Regions from separate parts of the Homo sapiens genome. Here all the other regions are linked to region 6. The links are contacts of gene promoters, found by promoter capture Hi-C in blood cells and fetal thymus (Javierre and others, 2016). All regions are on one chromosome and are shown on one strand. Each heading gives the region's core, a stretch centred on a gene start or on the middle of the fragment in contact. The rest is flanking DNA. Distances are from core to core; before and after follow the strand shown. Region 1 has its middle 8.6 kb from the start of CCDC110. Region 2 holds the start of CFAP97 (cilia and flagella associated protein 97). Region 3 overlaps CCDC110 (coiled-coil domain containing 110). Region 4 overlaps SORBS2 (sorbin and SH3 domain containing 2). Region 5 overlaps SORBS2 (sorbin and SH3 domain containing 2). Region 6 holds the start of CYP4V2 (cytochrome P450 family 4 subfamily V member 2).

Region 1 (3,275 bases), core at 671-3,170, 710 kb before region 6:
TTTTAAAATATATTTTTAAAATGCGTTTTTCCTATGTGTGCTCTCAATCTACCATGTTGACCCTAAAGTTTCTTATTGCAAAGTTGCTAAAGTCAAGTAAGGTGATTATTTGCTTATCTAGAACACAAATTAGAATTAACTGAAGTCAAAGGGAGTAGTACAATGAAATTTCCTTTCGACTTCCAAAGTGGAGAAAACACCATTCTCCCCAGTGAGGCTGGAAGGATCCGGTCCTCTGAGCTTTTCCCAGCCTCTTTGGCTGCTGCTGAGGACTCAGTATCTTCTACAGCATGCACATTTTCAATATGTAGGAAATAAAGGGTCAGTGATAGCCACAAAAACCTGGCAAAAGTATGCAGAGTCCCCTTGCCCAGGCCCTCCTGACACCTCCTTCTCCTGCGACAGTGATGTATGTTCGTTACCCTGTTTGAAATAGGGAAACAAAGTCTAGAACCTTAATACTCTGGAAGATGCTAAATCTCCTCCTTCCTTATTGTAATTATTACCCCAATAATTAAGTTGTGGGTGATATATTCTTGCTTATGTGTCATTTTATTGAGAGTTGCAGAATTTTAGGAAAAATGTTGTTTCCAGATTTATGTGGGAATATGAAAATATGAGGTTAGGGAACTTTAAAAAACTCTTTGTAATTGGTCAGTACCAGACTTCCTAATTCCGAAACTTTGGTTCTGCCCCAACCCATAACACATTACAATTCTAGGGGTTAGCTCAGTGTTTAATCTAAATTTTACAAGAGTATAGAGACCGTATAAACATCTTCAGAGCTGAAAGTTCACAATACCTGATGAGGCATCCCACTCCACCTGCAAAACCTCCTTCTTGTGGTGAGACTTTCTATTTTACTCGGCCCCATGTCAGATAGAGGGTAGAGCATATTCTGTAGGGGGTTGGGTATGGTTTCCCTGGCCACATATGTTAGTCAGTCCACCAACTGCCCTGAAAAAAATCTTTGACTTTTTTTGATTGTGAAGGTCATTTGCTGAAGGATGGAATTAAAATCTGAAGTACCAATTTAAACAAAAGCTGTGAGTCACAGTATTTCAAAAATCTTCAAACAGTAGCTCCTCCTAGGGAATCCTCTTCACCTGTTGACTAACAGCTGCAGATTTAACAATCTGGAGTAAAGTCAAGAGCATTGCACAAAAACAAGCTAGGGAACCTATTCTTAGCAACTTATTACCAGACTAAAATACTTCTGGGCTTTTCAGTTTCATAAGACCTTTTTTTAAACCTGATATCACAAGGCTATTATTAATCATAGATGAAATCTATAGTAGCATGAAAAAACGACCAGATTGCCCTTAGGGTACAAGAAATTTGGGGCCGGGCGTGGTGGCTTGCGCCTGTAATCCCAGCACTTTGGGAGGCCGAGGTGGGCGGATCACTGGATCAGGAGATCAAGACCATCCTGGCTGACACGGTGAAACCCCGTGTCTGCTAAAAATACAGAGAATTAGCCAGGCGTGATGGTGGGCACCTGTAGTCCCAGCTACTCGGGGGGCTGAGACAGGAGAATCGCTTGAACACAGGAGGTGGAGCTTGCAGTGAGCCGAGATTGCACCACTGCATTCCAGCCTGGGTGACAGACTCTGTCTCAAAAAAAAAAAAAGAAAGAAAGAAAGAAAGAAATTTGGGCAATTGTGTTTTGATCACAGAGAGGACCCATGTGCTAGGGACTTAGGATGTCTTGGGTGGGTAGTGGCCCTTCCTTCCGCAACTCAAAGGCTTTATCCAAATACAAACACCTCTTCCCCCAGCCTTCTTTAAGTTGCCGTTAGTGTTAGTGTTAACACCTGATTTCATCTATATGCGAATGAGCTCCATAAGCCAACAAGGTAAACTCCAGCTGTGGCTCTTAGGAAGTTAATTGCTGCTTTAAGAGGGTTTATTTAATGCTATGGTGGGTTACTGAGAGAGTGATGCTGGTTTAACTCTAACAAGTTTGGTGTGCTAAAGGGTCAGACATAGAGAAATATCAAAGTAGCTCGAGAAGGAGCAGGTGTTAGGGAAAGGGATATTTTTAGGATGGGTTGGAGTACTTGAGCATGTTTGTAGGCTGGGAATGAGAATCAGTGGCAAAGACAGTCTGGGTGCAATAAAATAAGTTGGAAAGAGAACTTGAAGAATAGAGTAATAGAATAGGAATTGAGTGATAGACATGACTCGGACCAAGAGGAGGACAGAGGACTAACAGTCTCTTTGAATGTGTGAAGGTCTGGCCGTTTTGTAGAGATGACAGAGACAGAAGCAACGGGGAACACACTTTCTTTGTAACAAGGTCCTTAGGTCCAATGAGTGCTGTCTGTGAAGTTTACTACGGGTGAGTAGGTGTCATCATTTTGAGTCTGTCAAAGGCAGTAGTCTCTGTAGCCTCTTCCAGACTGAGGAGTCTTTAATTCAACTTGTAGTACATGAGCCCCTTTTTCTCTTTTTCCTTTTTTATCTGACTTTAAAAGTTAGGAGAGCCCCTTTCTTTTTGATGCCAAACTGCCTTCTAGTTTTTAGACACTTAAAGAGCTGCACTGCCTCAGGCCACTTGTTTTACATTAATAATAATGGCATGTTTCCCCTTGCTATATAAAGTTACCATTAATGTGTACTTTCAATGGAGCTAATTAATTTGCAATGATAAATGCATGCTCCTTGCTTGATTTCTGTTGTGAGCCACGCATGAGTTAGAGGTGGCATTTATGACCATGGAACAGAAAGAAACTTCTAAATTGCACCAAGAACCTGGCCACATTGACAGCGTGCCCTCACTAAATGGAATGGCCAGCCTAGTTGACACAGGTGAAGACAATGTCAAAAACAGAACATTGAGTATTTGAGTATTAGAGGTCTCAGAGATCATCCTGTCCTCCCTCCTCATTCTGCAGATGGCCAAGCTGTGCCCGCATTCCAAGTCCTTATCCAGAGCTCTCTCCATGACAACCTTCTTAGTGACAGTATTACTTAATGTTTTTATTATTCCACACTGCTTTTGCTAGCACTCATGGAAGAAATGATTTTTATTCTAAAGAGAACAAACATGGACTATAACTTATCAGTGATAAAAAATAAAACCATACAATAGAGAGGAGGAATTTTAATAATGTTTAAATTTCATAGGTGTAAAGATTTCCAAACCATCTTACTTATTACTAGTGAATATTGGTGAGTTTACATGCTTTTTTCCTTCTACCTGTTTGGCCCTGTACAAAAATCCAACTCTCTGAAACTTTCCCTCATCTGTAAAATATTTATTTGGCAAAGTT
Region 2 (3,474 bases), core at 297-2,796, 990 kb before region 6:
TGGGAGAATCGCTGGAACCTGGGAGCTGAGGCTGCAGTGAGCCGAGATCAGGCCACTGCACTCCAGCCTAGGCAACAGAGTGAGATCCTATCTCAAAAAACAAACAAACAAAAAAAATCACCGGGTTTCAACCCAGTTTCCTTGATAGTTTCCTGCCATCTTCCCCCACCCCTCCGGAAGCACAAACCACAACTATGCCTTTATCTGCATTTCCATGATAAGGTCATGCAGTCCCCAAGAGCTGGAAGCCAGCTGCCTCCCTAAGTGGTCACAGTTCATGCGCCCTGGTGCATAGTCCGGTGCCTGTGAGACTTTTCAGGTTTAAATTTTAGTTAATAATATCCAACAGAGTTACTGTAAAGATTTCGACACTCATGTGACTTAATTTACAGGAAAATTTACCCAACAATCCCATCCACTGAGCAATTCTTTTGATAACATTTACTACGAGGTAAGTGATTCAATTTACCAGAGAATAAGAAAAATGACTTAATAAAGTAGTTAAGATTCTCTTTACAACAGACTAGGAAAGGATAAAATTAAAGGATAGTTCATCAGACCATAACAACCCTTTGGTGCTCAATCAAGACAGAGTTTTGCCAGGAGGGGCATGGCTCACGCCTGTAATCCCCGGACTTTGGGAGGCCAAGACAGGAGGATCGCTTGAGCCCAGGAGTTGGGAGGCTGCAGTGAGACATGATCGTGCCACTGCACTCCACCCTGGGCCACAGAGCGAGACCCTGTCTCAAAAAATAAAAATAAAAAAAAGAGACAGGTAAGTTTTTATCAAAGCTGCCTGAGAGTCACTGGGCACGCCCCACTTGCCAGGTCCTACAGACCAGCAATAACAAGACTAATGCTTTCACCAAACATCAGGAAAATACACAGAAAAGCACCGGGCACTTTTTAAACTGTCATCTTGTTACTGTGACAATACATTTCTGTAGTTAAACAGCACAGTAGGCCTCCAACAAGATGCCCAATTGGGTACATGAAAATCCCGGCCCAAATTAAACACCTGTTTCCAGGAACGCTAGGCTCTTGTCTACATCCCCTACCGTCCCCGGAAGGCAGATAACCCCTCGGGCCTCGTGGGTTAGGTTCGAGTCCCTACAAGTAGGAAGAAGTCGTCAGGGCCCGGCATGTGGTCGCGGCCCAATCTCAATTTAGGGCTGATCCTGACCCTCAAAGCCACCCGGAACGCGCGAGAGGGCGGGACCCGCCATTCTCACAGGGGACCGGGGTGGAACGGCGCCGCGACCCGCCGCCGCGGGCGCCCCTGTCGTGGGGGCGCGGTCTCCCACCGTCCGCGCAGGCTTCGTTAAACCCACCCCGAGTACTCGCCGCCGCCTGGGCTCCGGAGCGGGGAGACGGATGCGAACGGAAAGGAGCGTGGCGGGCGCCCCGCGAGCAGGGAGCCAGGAGCCGCTCGCGCGCCCCTCACCTGAGAGCCGCGGCCACCACAGCCCCACGCGCGGCGCTGGCGCACTCCCGCGGCCCTGAACGGGCTCCCGGCGCCGCGCGCCCGCGCTTCCGGAGGCGGAGAGAGCGGAAAGGGAAAGGAGGGGCGGCGTGGGGCCCGGCGCTTCGGGAGAGGCGGGGGCGCACGCCGGGCCTCGTGCGGCCCTCGCGGCGGGCGTCACAGAGCGCGGCGGGCAGGCGGCCAGGCCGGGGCTCCACGCGGGCGGAGTGGAGGCCGGGCCAGGGACGCGCACACTAGAAGAGCCGCGGAAGAAGGCGGTCCAGCCCGCGTGGTTGCCATGGCGCCCTAGAGGCGTTACTGCTGCTCCCGGCTGCCTAGGGCGGCGCGGGTAGGCCCCGTTGTTCTCGTGCGTTAATAGGGAAAGCTGCCTTGATTATCTTGTAATTCTCTACCAAACCAAGAATAAAAAAGAACGGCGGCTGTGTGTTTGTGATATTTTCTATCAGCAAATTTCAGTTCATACCACTAGTTAGTTCTGTGGACCAGAGGCTGGTTTCAGAATGGAAAGACCTTTGCCGAGTGGTAAACGAGGTGGGTAGTTAAAACAATCTAAGGTAAAAATGATCTCTGCAGAATATATTGAATACAATAACTTCTCGTTGAACTCTCAGGTATGGTAGGATGATGGCACCCCAAAAATGTGCACCTCCTAGTCCCCACAACACGTGAATATGTCACCTTATGTGGCAGACAGGATTTAGCTGATGTGATTAAGGATCAAAATGGGAAGATTAACCAGGATTATCCAGTGAACCCCATGGAATCACAAAGGTCCTTATAAGATGGAGACAAGAAGTTCAAAGTCAGTAGTGGGAGCTGTGAGCACAGAAGCTAGAGGTTGGAGTGATGTCAGAGGCAATGAGCCAAGGAGTGCAGGTAGAAGCTGCAAAAGGAGGAAACGGATTCTCTCCTGAAACCTCAGGAAGGAACTAGAGCCTGCAAATTTTGATTTTAGACTTAATACCTTAAGCACTGTAAGACAATACACCTGTGTTGTTTTAACTACTGAATTTGTAGTAATTTGTTATAGCAGCAATGGTATACAATCCAGTAGTTAATAAATATTGTTCACATCTAAGTGCAAAGAAGGGTAGGAAATATGGGTCTTACCCTGCCTGTCCCGGGGAGTTCCAGTAAGGATTGTCTATTTTCGTCCTTCACAATGCATTTTGTACTTGTTGGTCTTAATTACCAAAAGTATAATCAATTCTCTTTTTGTTGCCTAAAAGACAGCATTGGCTGGGCGCAGTGGCTCACCCCTGTAATCCCAGCACTTCGGGAGGCCGAGGCGGGTGGGGCCCCCTGAGAGGAGTTCAAGACCAGCCTGACTAATATGGTGAAACACTGTCTCTACTAAAAATACAAAAATTAGCTGGGCGTGGTGACGTGAGCCTGTAGTCCCAGCTACTCGGAAGGCTGAGACAGGAGAATCGCTTGAACTCCGGAGGTGGAGGTTGCAGCGAGCCGAGATCGTGCCACTGCACTCCAACCTAGGCAACAGAGTAAGACTGTGTCTCAAAAAAAAAAAAAGCAAGAATTTCACTTTCTTTTAAAGTGCTTAATAAAACTGTGTTGGCACCACTTTCCAGGGATAGTTGTTAAACTGTGGTTGGCCCGGCGCGGTGGCTCACGTTTGTAATTCCGCACTTTGAGAGGCTGAGGTGGGCGGATCACCTGAGGTCAGGAGTTCCAGACCAGCCTGGCCAACATGGTGAAACTCCGTCTCTACTAAAAATACAAAAATTAGCCAGGTGTGGTGGTGCACATCTGTAATCCCAGCTACTCAGGAGGCTGACGCAGAAGAATCGCTTGAACCCAGGAGGGAAATGTTGCAGTAAGCTGAGATCACGCCATTGTACTCCAGCCTGGGCGACAGAGCAAGCCCCTGTCTCTAAATAAATAAACAAACTGTGGTCAAAAGTTTATCTTACAAAGGACTTGAGTAGATATTTCTCCAAAGAAAATATACCAATGGCCAATAAACACATGAA
Region 3 (3,596 bases), core at 588-3,087, 730 kb before region 6:
CGGGTGCGGTGGCTCACGCCTGTAATCCCAGCATTTTGGGAGACTGAGGTGGGCAGATCACCTAAGGTCGGGAGTTTAAGACCAGCCTGGCTAATGTGGCGAAACCTGGTCTCTACTAAAAATACAAAAATTAACCAGGCATGGTGGTGGGCACCTGTAATCCCAGCTACTCAGGAGGCTGAGGCAGGAGAATTGCTTGAACCCAGGAGGCAGAAGTCGCAGGGAGCCAAGATCATGCCACCACACTCCAGCCTGGGTGACAAAAATGAAACTCCTTCTCAAAGCAAAGTGTACTCTCTTCTCTGACTTGAATTTGGAAGGAGAAAGAACTGGACCTTCTAGCAGATCTTCTGCCACCACAGGGAGTCTGAGAATCCCCTACTGTGGAAAGCAGAATCAGGATACAGAGTGAGACCTATTTTGACGACACAAGACCTGATCATGTGGACTCAGCCATCCTGAAGTGAGCTCTCTCCAGGACTTTCATTTACTTGAGCTATTAAAGTGTATTTTTTCCCTAAGCCAGTTTGAATTAGACTTCATGTCACCTATAATGAGGGTCCCTATTTGTAGTCTATATATAGACTTTAAACGTGTATTGAAAAAATCAGCGAGTGCTATCTCTTTGGGCTTGTTTCCAAATACAAGTATAACAGAGAGAAGAATGTAGTTTCTTTAAAATAAATTTTGAGCCTAGAATATGCTGTGGCCTCTATTATATTAAATTCTGTGTCAGCTAATCCATTGGCTAGTGACCATCAGCTTAGAAGATGGGATGATACTTCAAGGTGAGATATTTCATATATAGATCAAAAGAAACATACCATGCTGACATTCTGCAAAGTCTGCATTCGCAAAGCCTGAAATGATTCCAACTGCTGCTGAAGGACCTATGACAAAAGTAAAGTATGAAATTGAGTATTTTTAGGTAGGTAAACGTATTCTTGAATTGTTATGATTTTATGTCTCCCAAAGTTGCCTATTACTTGAAAAGATCCCGTGAGGGTCAGGTGGTTCACATTCTTAGGCATTTTGCTAACTCCCCAATGTGCTTTCATGGAGATCCTTGTGAGGATAAAGTGAGAGAACCCGTTTGCATTTAGGGAGTATTTATTCTGAAAAAGATCAGCCTTTACCCAGAATTTTGGAGATGATAAAATGGAATATAGACTCACTTTCAATGCTGATTGTGGTTGGATTTGATTTTCTGATTCTGCTATGCAGCCATATTCTAAGAAGCAAAATTGAAAAACCATGTGACTTAATTCTTAAATTTTATTTTTTAAAACCTGTAATAGAAAGCAGTCTCCTAACTTGCTTGGATAGTGAGGCAGAGATAATGAGAACTTCTGATATTCACACTATGCTAGTCACATAAGCTTAAGTGATAATTCTCGCTTGACTTAATATATCCACTTGAGGTTGTAATAGTGTCTTCACTTTTAGAGTACACCGTTAATTTGCAACACCACACTTAGAACTCTCAAAAACTCAAATATCAAATATCTTTGTTTCTGGGATATAAACTGCATTCAAAAAAAACCTAATAATGCTCATATTATGGGAGACCCTTGGCAAAGTAGTATACAGGCCTCAATTTCTGTGAAATTTCCATGTGACATTTTTCCCCTTATGGAAACCAAGTTGGATCAACAGCATAATTTTTGTCCTGGCTTAAGCACAGTACGCACTTGTGGCTTCCCTTGGGAAGGGCAGTTTCACATTCACAGTCTTTAGATCCCCTCTTGGCCATGTATGAATGGGCCTGGGCCTGGAACACTTCTTTACCAAGGGGACTCTTTTTAAAGTCCTCGTTCACAGCCTGTGCTGGACTTGCTACCATGTGTGGGGATAGCACTCCCCGCTTCAGACTCAGTGTGTACTCCTTTGTTCTGCTTAAGTGTGTGTGTCATATGATACCTGGCCAACCCTGCTACTCTGTCCCCTGCTAGATTATAGATGGGCCAGAAGGGGCCCTCTGGCCATGGGGAACCAACACCCACTACTGAGGCTGATCTTGCTCCGTCTCTTCATTCTGTGAGTAAAGGGTTGTTGCATCCGGTGCTTGACTGTTGTGTTTTGCTTGGCGACTCCGATACTAAGATACAGTAGACAGAAGTACTCCAGCTTCTTTTGATAATAGGCAGAATGTCACTTGCTTGATACCGTCCTGGATAGATTATAGATCTGCAACAGGGGGAGACTCTATCATGTTTGCAAATGCCCTTATATCCCTCTTTGTCTGCATGTTAGGCTGCTTGCTTTGTAAACTTTTTATTAAAGAGTGTATTCATAAAAGCTTTCAGTGTCCTAAGTAAAATGAGAGCTATGATGGAACGTTCCCCTAGGCTGATAATTTCTGCCCTAAGTTTTAAAAGAGGTCAGCGAATCTCCTTTGGATTGGCAGGCTGTCAGATGTTAGAGAAGCCGCTTGCAAAGTACAGGCACCCCTTCTGCTCTCTGACCCTCACCACCAAAGGGGCAACGCTGGTTTGGAGCCTGGAGCTGCCTGGCTATTGAAGAATCCCACCTTCAGTCAGAGGGTGGGGAGGGAGAGCGAGTCTGTCTGGATCTTGCTTAGCTTTGCCTCCACCTTCAGTCAGAGGGCGGATCTTGCTGTCTGGATCTTGCTTAGCTTTGCCTCTTCTTGGGAATAAAATGGCAGCTAAACTCCTGGTATCCTGAACTGTTCATCTAAAAAATAAGGAACTGAAGGAAGGCCCAGACCAGCATAGGAAGGAAACACAACGTTTTTCAGACTCTAAAGTAACCTCTTCTAATGAACTTAACTAGACCAAAGTGCAAATCGGGAAGAATATACCACCTAGAATCCTGCCACCCACAACGAACTGTTGTTAATTTTAGGTGCCATCTTTCGGTCAGCTCTCTATGCACATAAGTGGATGAAGTGGAATCATTTTATACATAAATGGTATTTTACATAAATATTGCCTATATTTACTTGAATTTAAGAGAATTTTTAAAACTGCAAGTAGTGGAAATTATTTCTAGTATTTGGATTTTTTTTTACTACATGAGAGATATTATTTCCTAAGAGATCCCTGTAAACTAATGAAAATTAACATGAAAAGAATTAAAGATTGAAACCTTTATTGTTTCAATAACATACAGTTCTATTGTATTCATTGTTGACTTACTCCCTGCCAAGAGAGATGAGAAAATTAGCATTCTATTTCCTTCCATGCCTACTTCCCTCTTTTCATGGTATTTGCTAGTTATGTGATTTATACACTGTGAAGGTTTATGTTTACATTCTGTTCTGTAACTGTAATTTCCACACAGCTCTTTATTTAAACACGAAGATAGGATATCATTCTCATAAATGTATTCAGCCTTCAACTCTATTCTGAGTGATGTAACTGTTCAAAATTCTATCTCCTTCCCATACCTACAGGAATAGCTTCCTTTTTCTGTACAGATTTCCTTTCATTAGGAGGATTTGCAAGTTCAAAGCTAAATATAAGATTCCTTTAGCTAAAACCAAATAAGAAATATGAGACCAAAAGAAATGTACAGACTTAATAAAGGGATACAGTAAATCAAAGATTTCAAAGAAAGCAATGGGATTTATACAT
Region 4 (3,243 bases), core at 55-2,554, 550 kb before region 6:
TGATTTTGACATTGTTCTACTGTTTTATTGACTCGTTGCATTTACAAGTTTTGCTAATGATACACAGTCTACACTTACTAATAAATTATACTCACAGTGTTTTTAGTGATGTGACTTTGTTTCAATATTTTATAATAAAAGATTATAGGAGTAATTACAGACAATGATAGAAAAGTTTGAGGCATCGTGACAAAATAGTGCAAAAGCCTAAGTTATCCAAAAGATGTAGTGATCATAATTATAAAGACTGTGTAGTGTCCCTGGGAAATGCTTACAATGAGATACCAAGCAGTCAAAACGGAATCTAACCACGCACCTGTACAGTAGTTACAAAGGTATTACAAAGCTTGTCTCTGCATGAACACAGTAAAGAAGTCACACATACACAAACGACTACAATGGTGTTCTGGTATTGCGACTGTTTGTTTTTTCTTTCTTTTAAATATTATTTTGCTTTATTGTTGTAATGTTATTTTTGTAATAAATAAATTCAGAGAGAACATCCTACTATTAGACATAGGAAAATGCCTAGAAATCTTGAGATATTTTTCCTTCTTTATGCCAGTATTATATTTGGTTTACACCTCAGAAGTAATAGTGAAATTGGTAGAGACAAAATATTCTAGTAACCAATTTGCTATTTTCTGTTGAATTTAAAAATTTAATTCAATTTATATTTGATTCAATAGTTGCAATAGTATTAATTGAGATTTTAATGTCCATAAAATACTATTTTTCTCCAATTATTATTTAGATCATTATAGATGCATAATTGTTCGTGAAATGGCTTTGCTGGAGCTGGTTTTTAGGGTAACTGACAGGAGAGAGAATTTCCAGTAATTTCTCTTCTGTTTAGAGAGACATACTATTTCTTCTACAGGAAAACTAACCTCTGACTCTTTTAAACTTCATAGTTTCTAATGTTACACACTGAATGATATCATTAATTATTATAACTTCTGTTTTCAAGAATAGTATTTTGTTTTGCCAAGGGGAGATAGAAACTTCTCTTAGAGGAAACGAATCTGTTTAAGAAACATTATGAACAGCAGAGGGCAGCCAACTTACTAAATGAATAAGACTTGTTAGCTATGTAGCTTCACTTTGACTCCCACATTAAGAAAATATGTAACAAATGGATATACCAAGTCCTGATTTATAGTAATGCATCTCTATGATAGAATATGGAAAAGGAAGCAGAATATCTACCATCTTGCATCATACCTTAGAATGGCAGTTTTCCATGAATTATGCTTTTGTTTATTTAAATAGTCAATTTATAGTTACAATGGGCAACTATCTAGAATGCATGCCAATAGAAATTAGCAGAGAAAACACCCAAAACAATGATAGCTGGTAATTATCGATAACTTTGGAATGCAATGAAAGGCACATGTTTGAGCAGAGTTGTGTTAAAGGAAGTGTTAGTGGCAGAACTAGAATTTTCTCTTTGCTGTGGTTGCCGTATTGAATCTTTTAAGTCATGCAATAATTAAATGTCCTATGGTGACCTGGAGGCACTGCTAAGGAACACAGAAGCCTCGCAACAGTCAGTGACACACATACAGATGGTCAGTCAACAGATGGATATACACACAAATCACTAATCTCAGTAATTTAACACTTTCCATGTGGAACATGGACATTCCTTTGAGTACAGCACTAATATTAACACTCAGAAACTCATTTAGGAGGTATGATTATGGTTTACTCTAATTGCTCATAAAAGGCAAAAGAGCAAAGATACTGATATGCATCTTTCTAGCCTTGGTGTGATTTTTTTGTTGTTGTTTCTTTTCATTAAAAAAAAAAAAAAACCCACCAGCAAACCTCCGTTTAAAACTAACTTTGTTAGTCATCAGTGCAAGAGGACGTGTTCAAGAAAAGCTACAACTATAAATCACAAGTGATCCTTACTTAAAAGCTACCAAGGGTGAACAACTTTAAAAATTTTAGTGTTTTCTATAATTTAAAAGCATTTAATTGCTTTTGTGGTTATCGAGATTCCACTAAGTATTCTCAGTGAGGCATGTGCTTTCTATACGTTGTTCTAAACAAAAAGAAGTGCCAGGGCTATTTTGTTTTTCAAATTACGCTCATTCCATTTTAAGTTTTAATGACATTGACTACCGTGTTTTATATTTATTGTGGTTTCACAATAAATGCTATATACATTATTAGTTGGGATAATTCTTAATGGTCATCAGATGAAACTCCTTAAATTTTTATAGTTAAGTATTGACTGACAATCTTTATTGATAAAGAAGCTTAAGTTCATTAAGGGTTTAAGTTGCATTTCAACTCTGCTACAGTGTTTTCAATGACTATTTTCTTCTGCTTTTATCATTATGTTCAAGTTTAGTTATTGTAGGTTAGGGTAACATTTTCATATATTTTTTTTTTACTTTATCAAGCATACAGAGGTCCTAAACAAATGCTTTATTAATTTTTTTTTTTAAATTTAACATTACTCACCTACAAACATATCCAATGCAATGGGATATAAAGGTTTTAGTAATATAATCCCAGCAGAGTTTTTATGATTGTCTCATGGAAAAATTAAATTGTGGAAATACGGTTCTGATTTGTGGTTCGAGTCAGTTCAAGGCAAATTCCTGGTGACTGCTAAGTACTTTTCCAGATCAAACATTAGGCCCAATTAATTAACATTTCTAAATTTACAGTCACATGAGTATTTATGAGCTTCAAAAAAGTGCGCTCACTTTTACTTTCCCTGTTAAAGAACATAAACGCATATGCCACTGATTCCTAAGGAAGATCTCTTTGCCAGGGTCTTGGGAAGATTTTTGTTCAAACAGTACTACCCCCCTGCCTTCTCTGTATCCCAGGGAATCGTGGAATTATGAGTCACTACTAATAGCAGTGTGTCAAACCCCTCCAAGAATGTTTTGAGACCCACTGGGCCTTTTGCACTAGAAATATATAGGCTTCATGGATAAACAACAGAACAAGGATTCAGTCCCTCACCAACTTTTTCCACTGACTGCAAGGGTGAAACCTGTGTTCCTTCATTCACTTAGAAATTCCACGAATGCATATTCACTGAACACCTGCTACAGGCCAGGCATCGTCCCAGGTGTTGGGATACAACTGGTGGACCAGTCACAGCCCTCGCCTTCAAGAAGCTCAAGATCTCATGAGGAACACAGTGTGCCATGGGCACACAGCAGGGAGAGCCTCCAACCTAATGCAGAGGAGTCAGGCACATTCCCTGGGGGAGGT
Region 5 (3,249 bases), core at 321-2,820, 590 kb before region 6:
TCATGGCATCCAATGCTTTGTAAAACTGGTTAGTTTCATTTCATTGCTCTTTTGTTAAAATGTGAATACCACTTTAAAAATCAAATTGTTCATTAATGTAAAACAATCAACTTTTAAAGTCCGTATATCCCTTTTTAGTTATCATCATTATAATTCTACTAGTTTAATTCCTTTAACTCAACCCACCTCATCAATCATTTAACTGAACTGTCCCATTGACCATTATGAAAATTTGGTGATTGCTGCAAACCTGCAGCTTCCTGGATCCCACGTCCATGGCTGGAGAACGTATGTTCCTGTGTGGGGCAGCCAGCACCGTCCTTGCTTTTTTTTTTTTTTTTTTTTTTTGAGATGGAGTCTCACTCTGCCACCAGGCTAGAGGTCAGTGGTGTGATCTTGGCTCACTGCAACCTCTGCCTCCCGGGTTCAAGCGATTCTCCTGCCTCAGCCTCCCGAGTAGCTGGGACTACAGGCACGCACCACCGTGCCCAGCTAATTTTTGTATTTTTAGTAGAGACAGGGTTTCACCATGTTAGCCAGGATGGTCTCGATCTCCTGACCTTGTGATCTTCCCGCCTTGGCCTCCTAAAGTGCTGGGATTACAGGCGTGAGTCACTGCGCCCGGCCCCCGTCCTTGCTTTTACCTGTTTCCCAATTTCTCTTTTCCCTTCCTTCATATCTTTCAAACCCTGCCCCTCTTTTTACACACAAATCATCAGTTTTCTATACTGTTCACATCCTGAGGCCAGAATCAATCAAGACTTTTCGTAGCAGAGAAGTTGTGTGTGTCTTATAATGGCGAGTTTTAGAACTTTTCAAAGCTTACCTTTAACAAGAATCACCTCCATGTTAATGTGGATAACTAGGAGACAGTTTTGAGGAAAGCTGACTAATTACAGTACTTGAAATAGTTTATTTTAAAGGCATTTGACTAGTAGGGAATGAGTAGCAAGAACAGTTATCTAAGACGGCTCATCTGCGTCTTTCTGTTTTGGGCGTTAAGCACCATATAACCTTGGGGATGCCTCAGCTTCCCTATCTCTGAAATCAATGAGTTGGACAAGATGAGGGTTAATCGGGTCCCCTCAGGGATTCCATGAAGGATACACATTTCCACAGATGTATTTCCTCTGCTGTGTAAAGGTGTCCGTCATCAGTTTTACACAGAGAGCTGGGACACTGACATTGATTGGTTAATTCTCATGTGTCTCGGTCACGTAAAAAAAAATAATGGTTACAATTCAACTCCATTTTGCAGAATGGTAAACCAAAACCCAAAGATACTGGATAATTTCTTAATACGACAAATAGGTAAAAAACAAACAGAAAAAGAAACAAAATGGTAATTTCGATGTGCACGCTATTGCATGAAAGATTACTATGATGGACTACTTGGCCTACCTTGGCTAAAATCAGCATCTTAATTTTGACGCTGAGGTAGGTGCAAATGTCCTATAAGGTGATGTAAATAGATTATCTGGGGAGACTGTCTTTCGCCCTTTCCCCTTGGTGATGTAACTCAAATGGCAAGTCGCTTAAGCAGAGATTTGTAATGCAGCTGCACTCTGTCGCCACCTAGTGGTGAGCAATGGCAGCAACAAGCTGAGAGTTGTTTCTGCTTTATCTGCCCCTTTTTATCCAAGTTCCCAAGGCTGGAAAAATTTTAAAAGCCTATTTTAAAGGCCGCAGAGTGATGTGGAATAGACAGTCATCTGTTTTCCTAACCATGTTCTTCCCTCCCCACGTTTTAAATTTTTGAGAAAGCATCCCTTGTAAAGCCACCAGCATTTTTGGTCCGTGTCCATTTCTATTTTGACTATCTGTGCAGGCATTTCCATTTCCCCTAACTTCTTAGCAGTTTTAAGATAAATATAGAACAATATACACTTGTGACATTCAGAGAGGCTTACATGAGCTGAACCTAGAAAGATGGCTTTCAACTGACACATTACAATCACTGTGCTGGGCATTTTGAACAAGAATTATATTATGCTTATATTTCCTTGATGAATCTTAAGAGTAGAACAAGAGAAAAATCCAGTGAAGCATGCTGCGGTTTTCATCGTATCCTAAATATGTATTTTTTTCTGTAGCCCTGACTATGTAAGTATTTTTCTGTAGCTATTTTTTAATGTTGTCAAAAACGGATACAAAAGAGACAAGTTTTAAACACATGCTAATTTCCAAAGCCAGAACCAATCACAAGTTGCTGTTCATAAGGAAGCTGGTTTGAAACATCATGGAGTCTGTAACATCAGTAAAATATATACTTTCCGATCTTAGTGAGCTACAGTCTGTTGAAAAGCCGTCTAATTTATCAAAGCTTCTGCAGTTATCTCTGGAGGATTAGCTATATTTAGTATCAAATAATTCTTAAAGAAGGATTGACTGTTACTTTAAACACTAATGCAAAAAAATCTCTGAAAGCAATATAAGCAGTGCTAAAGTGTTTTTATCTTTTTTTATAAAATATTAGTTGTCATATTTGCCCACCAGAATTCGATGAAATTCTCCTAATAATACCACGTTTATGTTTCTAGAGGCTTATTTTTCCTTCTTAAATTATGAAGGTAAAACACAACTTTGCATAAATCTAAAAAAATAGAATATTTATGGTTCACACAAACACACGTGTAATCTGACATACAAATACATAATGTAAAAATCAGGCAAAAAATAAAAAAAAAACCTTAAGGGGAACACAAGCATACCATCTCGTGGACCCACAGGAGGGTTATAGATGGGTCCTTTTCACTGCAAAAGAAGCTTATGTTTTGCTTTGGCTCTGGAAGGCCATTCGGGGGAGTCTAAGAGTCTCTACAAATTGGCATTTCTGTCTCTATGGCAACACAAAGCTCTGCCTCAGCAACAAAATGAGGTCTTCCTATGCAATGCAAAAAGCACAAAGTGGCATGAATGCAGAATAATATCGACTTTTCTTTAGAAATAAAAAATGAAGACTTCTGTGAAATCAAGCCCTTGAGAACTTCTTGAAATGCAGAAGCACGGCCATGCGATAGGCCAGTCAAGGTTGAATCCGGGTCCATTAAAACAGAAATGAGGAAAGGAATCCTGACTTATGTCCAGATGAAAATTTCCAAACTCCTTGGCTGCATTCCTTAGAATTGATAGTAAGTACCATTTAGAGTCCATGTATTTTAAAGTACTGTAGATACTATGGAACGAAGTAGCTAAGGGAAAGTAATTTGACCTTTAAGTTCAATCAGAGCTGGCAAGAAATAGGAAGTG
Region 6 (3,642 bases), core at 388-2,887:
TGACCATTTCTGCCCAGGCCGAGACTCACTGCTGCCCAGAGCAATCTCCCTTCTCTCCTTCTGGAGGGGAGGGGTTGTATGTTACCCGCCTGGTTTTATCCACAGAGGTTAGCAGAGACTGATACAGACAAACCCTTTTTCTTTCTAATTTTAGATTCAAGAGCACATGTGCAGGTTTGTTAAATTTGCCTGACGCTGAGGTTTGAGTTTCTATTGATCCCCTCACCTGAATAGGGAACACAGTACCCAATACACAGTTTTTCAACCATTACTCCCCTTCCTTCCTCCCCCTATTTTAGAATCCCCAGTATGTAGACAAATTGTTTACTTTTATAGCTGTAATTAACCTTATTATAGCTCAGCCTCAACCCTTTAGAGAGGAGGAAACTAAAGCCCATGAGACTTGCTTAAAGATACTAAGTGAACATATTTATTTTTTAAAGTGTTAAAGTGATTAAACAATGTAGACGTGAATGAAATAAAAAGCGTAAGTTCCCCATCTTCATTCCCACTCCATAGAGCTGATCAGTATTTTTACTTGCAGACATTAGTGGAGCCGTAGAGAAAGAAACCTTTTCTCCAAAAGAAGGCATTACTTTACACACTCCGTTCTGCAACTTGTTTTGTTCACTTGCTATTTCACGTCAGCCCATGCAGATGACTTAAAACAAATTCAAATGGAGAAAAGCCTTAGGCATGTTTTTCTCTGCACTAAAGAGGCCCTGCAGGTGGCTGTGGCCAACTTATGCAGTGGCTTCGAGTGAACGAACGTAATTAGTAATTAAGCAAAGCGGGCATCCAGGACATTCAGTTTCATCTTCCTGGCACTTTAGTGTTTAGGAAGGGCCTGGCCTCTCGGGGAGCGACACTCCTCGCCCGGCCACTTTGTAAGAAGCATCGAGCGTGGAAAAGGGGCTGGGGTCAGCACTGGGGCCCTCTGCCGGGAAGAGAGACTGGCGGCCAGCACACGCGTCTCCCCAGGCTGAAATGGGGCACCCTCTCGCGGCCCTTCCCTCCCTTCCCGGGCTGGGTGGCAGGTCTTGGCTCTTCTGCGAGTACCCCGCGGCTGCGGTCTCCCGGCACCCGCTGAGCAGCCTCGCCCGCCTTCCTCTCCCACCCGCCCCTGCGTGCTCTCCGGGGCTCCGGCTTCCTCGGTCTGGTGCCTGGTGCGTATTTTGGAAAATACCTGGCTCATAACCACCTCATTGAGCTCCCAGTGTCCCAGTGGGCCAGCGGACACACACGGGTAGCTGACTTCCCTAACGTGTCCCCAAAGCCTCCCTGGATTACAGCGCCCGCTGCTCCATGTGACCCCGCGGGAGCCAGGACGCGCCCCGCCTCCCGGGGCTGCAAGTTGCGCAGGGAGCGAGCGATGCGCAGCAGAGCTGGGCTCCGAGCCGGATGCGCCTTCCTTTCCTCTCCAGAGCAGGCTGCCCGCCCGCGGAATCCCGCACGTAGAGCAACCTCGCAGCACCCTCAGAACAGCCCCGCTGGGGCGCGCCGGGCTGCCGCGGTGACCTTTCCGACGCCCCTGACCCCGCATCCGGAGGCGGCCGGAAGTGTCGCCGGCCTCCTCCCGGCGCAGCCTCCGGGCCTCCAGTGCAATCACTACGCCCTGGGGCCCGGAAACCGTTTTCCGGTCTTTCGCTTTCGGCTGGGGCGTGGAGGCCGCGGTGCTGCGTAGGCCGGGCCGGGCGCAGGAACAGCCCCGTGGCGCCCTCTCTGGCCGCCGCCCGGGCGGGAAACGTCGTTCCGGGGACCGGGCGACCCCGCAGCGGGGAGCGCGCCAGGTCCGCGCGGGGAAGTGGGCGGTGTGCGGCCGGCACCGCCTCGCACCACGCCCCCGCGGGCCCGCACTTTCCCGGAGTGCACCCCGCGGCCGCCAGCCGGGGCGATGGCGGGGCTCTGGCTGGGGCTCGTGTGGCAGAAGCTGCTGCTGTGGGGCGCGGCGAGTGCCCTTTCCCTGGCCGGCGCCAGTCTGGTCCTGAGCCTGCTGCAGAGGGTGGCGAGCTACGCGCGGAAATGGCAGCAGATGCGGCCCATCCCCACGGTGGCCCGCGCCTACCCACTGGTGGGCCACGCGCTGCTGATGAAGCCGGACGGGCGAGGTAAGGGCCGGCGCTCCTCCTGGAGCGCAACGGGGTCCGCAGCCCCGTTCCCACCCTCCGATCAGCCAGGAACCCGCTGCTTGTGGCGCTGGCCGCAGGAGAGAGGAGCCTGTCACCCTGTGGAGAATGCACTCCCAGTTCTAGTCGTTGCCCCTTGGCACCCGCCGACACTGCTAGTGCCCCATCCCAAAGTGAGCATTTTCTTTGTGTGTAGCACAGGATGCGGTATTTCCAAACCCCTGCCCTCGGTCTTTTCCCACCTCACCGCTGCTCAGCTCTCAAAGCCCTGCCGTTTCCTCCTGCCTTGGCTTGGGAAGCCTTAGGAACAGAAGCTCCCTGGGAGCACAGAGCGGTTTTAAACTGGCCAACACCTTAACGCCCAGAGCCGCCCTCCTCTCGCTGCCACTTTGGAAAATAAGAGACTAGAGATTCACTGGACGCTTCCTCCCGGCATCACAAGACTTGACTGCTGCTTCAGTTCCCGCTTGACCTTCATACTTTAGCCCTTTAAAGGATGTTACATAATAACAATTAAGAGACGGCAGGGCCTTCAGGCAGACTTCTTTGGAGGGTGTCAAACGCCTTGTTTATTAAAGAGTGAATTTTTTAATTAAAATCATGTTTTAAAACAGAGATGGACATTTTATTGATGGAAAAAAATCACGTTAAGTTAGAAAGCTCTCAAAAGTACCTGGTATTTACAACTCCCTGTCAGGGAGGGCGAACTCGATCTCAGAGTTTTATTTTCATCAGGGATTACGTTGAGGTACCCAGAAATGAGAAGATTTGCCCAAAATGGCATATTTTAAAATTGGCCCAGACCAGAACCCAGTTTCCTCTGGGATTATTTGTTAGTAATCGTTTTACAGGCTGAGCATTAACTAACTCCAAAGCTTGAAGGACTTTTTCTCATTTTCACTTGTTTTCTCTAATAAAAATAATGCTGTAATTTCAACTTCACAAGATGAGGCCTCATGGAAGAGTGTTTACCAAAATATTAAAAATACTTTGACAGAAAAAAATCAAGCGAACTCTTTGCCAACCAAATATCATCATGACTGATGTAACAAGTAATCCAACACAGATATGAAAATCACACTGGTAAAAATCATCTCAGTTAATTCTAAAAGCAGAGCTAACCACCCCTTTTGTCCTAAGGCTTTATGGTATTAAAAAATAAACTGTACAAAAATATAGATTTTCCCCTATCCCCTACCCCTGGAAAGTAATATACTGAAGTCTCATCATACTGTTTTGGGGATTCCAGTAATTAAAATCTCTAGTGAATAAAGACCTGTTTCAAAACAACCTGTGAGCTGACTGGACTATTTAAAGTAATTCTCCTTGTAGTCACTTTCAGAGTGAAGACAATGACGAATACTGTCTTTTACAAAGGGACTTTTTATTCCACCAACAAATTCTGGATTTTGGCATCAGGAAAACCACTGTTCAATTTCCAACACTATATCCAAGTTGTTTGAGAAATTATTTAAAACTCTTTAACTTAGAGGGTTTTCTTTCTCCTTTACTTGTT

The links. The method cuts DNA at HindIII sites, captures the fragments that hold promoters and counts their contacts. A CHiCAGO score of 5 or more calls a contact.
Region 1: a contact is called between a fragment that was not itself captured here and the fragment with the promoter of CYP4V2 in region 6, in 1 of 17 cell types (naive B cells). The highest score is 5.2, in naive B cells.
Region 2: the fragment with the promoter of CFAP97 here is called in contact with the fragment with the promoter of CYP4V2 in region 6 in 1 of 17 cell types (M2 macrophages); the score reaches 6.6 in M2 macrophages.
Region 3: a fragment that was not itself captured here is called in contact with the fragment with the promoter of CYP4V2 in region 6 in 1 of 17 cell types (total CD4 T cells); the score reaches 6.2 in total CD4 T cells.
Region 4: a contact is called between a fragment that was not itself captured here and the fragment with the promoter of CYP4V2 in region 6, in 3 of 17 cell types (M2 macrophages, M0 macrophages and naive B cells). The highest score is 7.3, in M2 macrophages.
Region 5: a fragment that was not itself captured here is called in contact with the fragment with the promoter of CYP4V2 in region 6 in 2 of 17 cell types (activated CD4 T cells and naive B cells); the score reaches 6.6 in activated CD4 T cells.

What each region holds. Positions count from the first base shown.
Region 1 is chr4:185,478,707-185,481,981 of GRCh38, forward strand. No RefSeq gene overlaps it. Among named protein-coding and RNA genes, the nearest start is that of CCDC110, 8.6 kb to the left of the region's middle. RefSeq lists an enhancer at 1,539-2,040. The HindIII fragment of the contact is 4,138 bases long and covers 1-3,275 here.
Region 2 is chr4:185,202,454-185,205,927 of GRCh38, forward strand. It overlaps CFAP97 (cilia and flagella associated protein 97), which reads right to left and starts at 1,547. Exons shown (of 5, transcript NM_020827.3): 1 at 1,445-1,547. It also overlaps a transcript of SNX25 not described here. RefSeq lists silencers at 1,080-1,849, 1,459-1,630 and enhancers at 2,390-2,499, 2,610-2,699. The HindIII fragment of the contact is 9,685 bases long and covers 1-3,474 here.
Region 3 is chr4:185,461,819-185,465,414 of GRCh38, forward strand. CCDC110 (coiled-coil domain containing 110) reads right to left here. Exons shown (of 7, transcript NM_152775.4): 3 at 1,176-1,231; 4 at 825-890. Among named protein-coding and RNA genes, the nearest start is that of CCDC110, 8.1 kb to the right of the region's middle. The HindIII fragment of the contact is 920 bases long and covers 1,378-2,297 here.
Region 4 is chr4:185,639,959-185,643,201 of GRCh38, forward strand. The region is part of intron 13 of SORBS2 (sorbin and SH3 domain containing 2); the gene reads right to left. Among named protein-coding and RNA genes, the nearest start is that of SORBS2-AS1, 54 kb to the left of the region's middle. The HindIII fragment of the contact is 1,921 bases long and covers 345-2,265 here.
Region 5 is chr4:185,596,206-185,599,454 of GRCh38, forward strand. The region is part of intron 24 of SORBS2 (sorbin and SH3 domain containing 2); the gene reads right to left. Among named protein-coding and RNA genes, the nearest start is that of SORBS2-AS1, 9.9 kb to the left of the region's middle. The HindIII fragment of the contact is 1,502 bases long and covers 820-2,321 here.
Region 6 is chr4:186,189,930-186,193,571 of GRCh38, forward strand. It overlaps CYP4V2 (cytochrome P450 family 4 subfamily V member 2), which reads left to right and starts at 1,638. Exons shown (of 11, transcript NM_207352.4): 1 at 1,638-2,108. The coding sequence starts at 1,895. FLJ38576 (a long non-coding RNA gene) reads right to left here and starts at 1,561. Exons shown (of 1, transcript NR_046264.1): 1 at 1-1,561. RefSeq lists a silencer at 1,435-1,964. The HindIII fragment of the contact is 5,614 bases long and covers 1-2,999 here.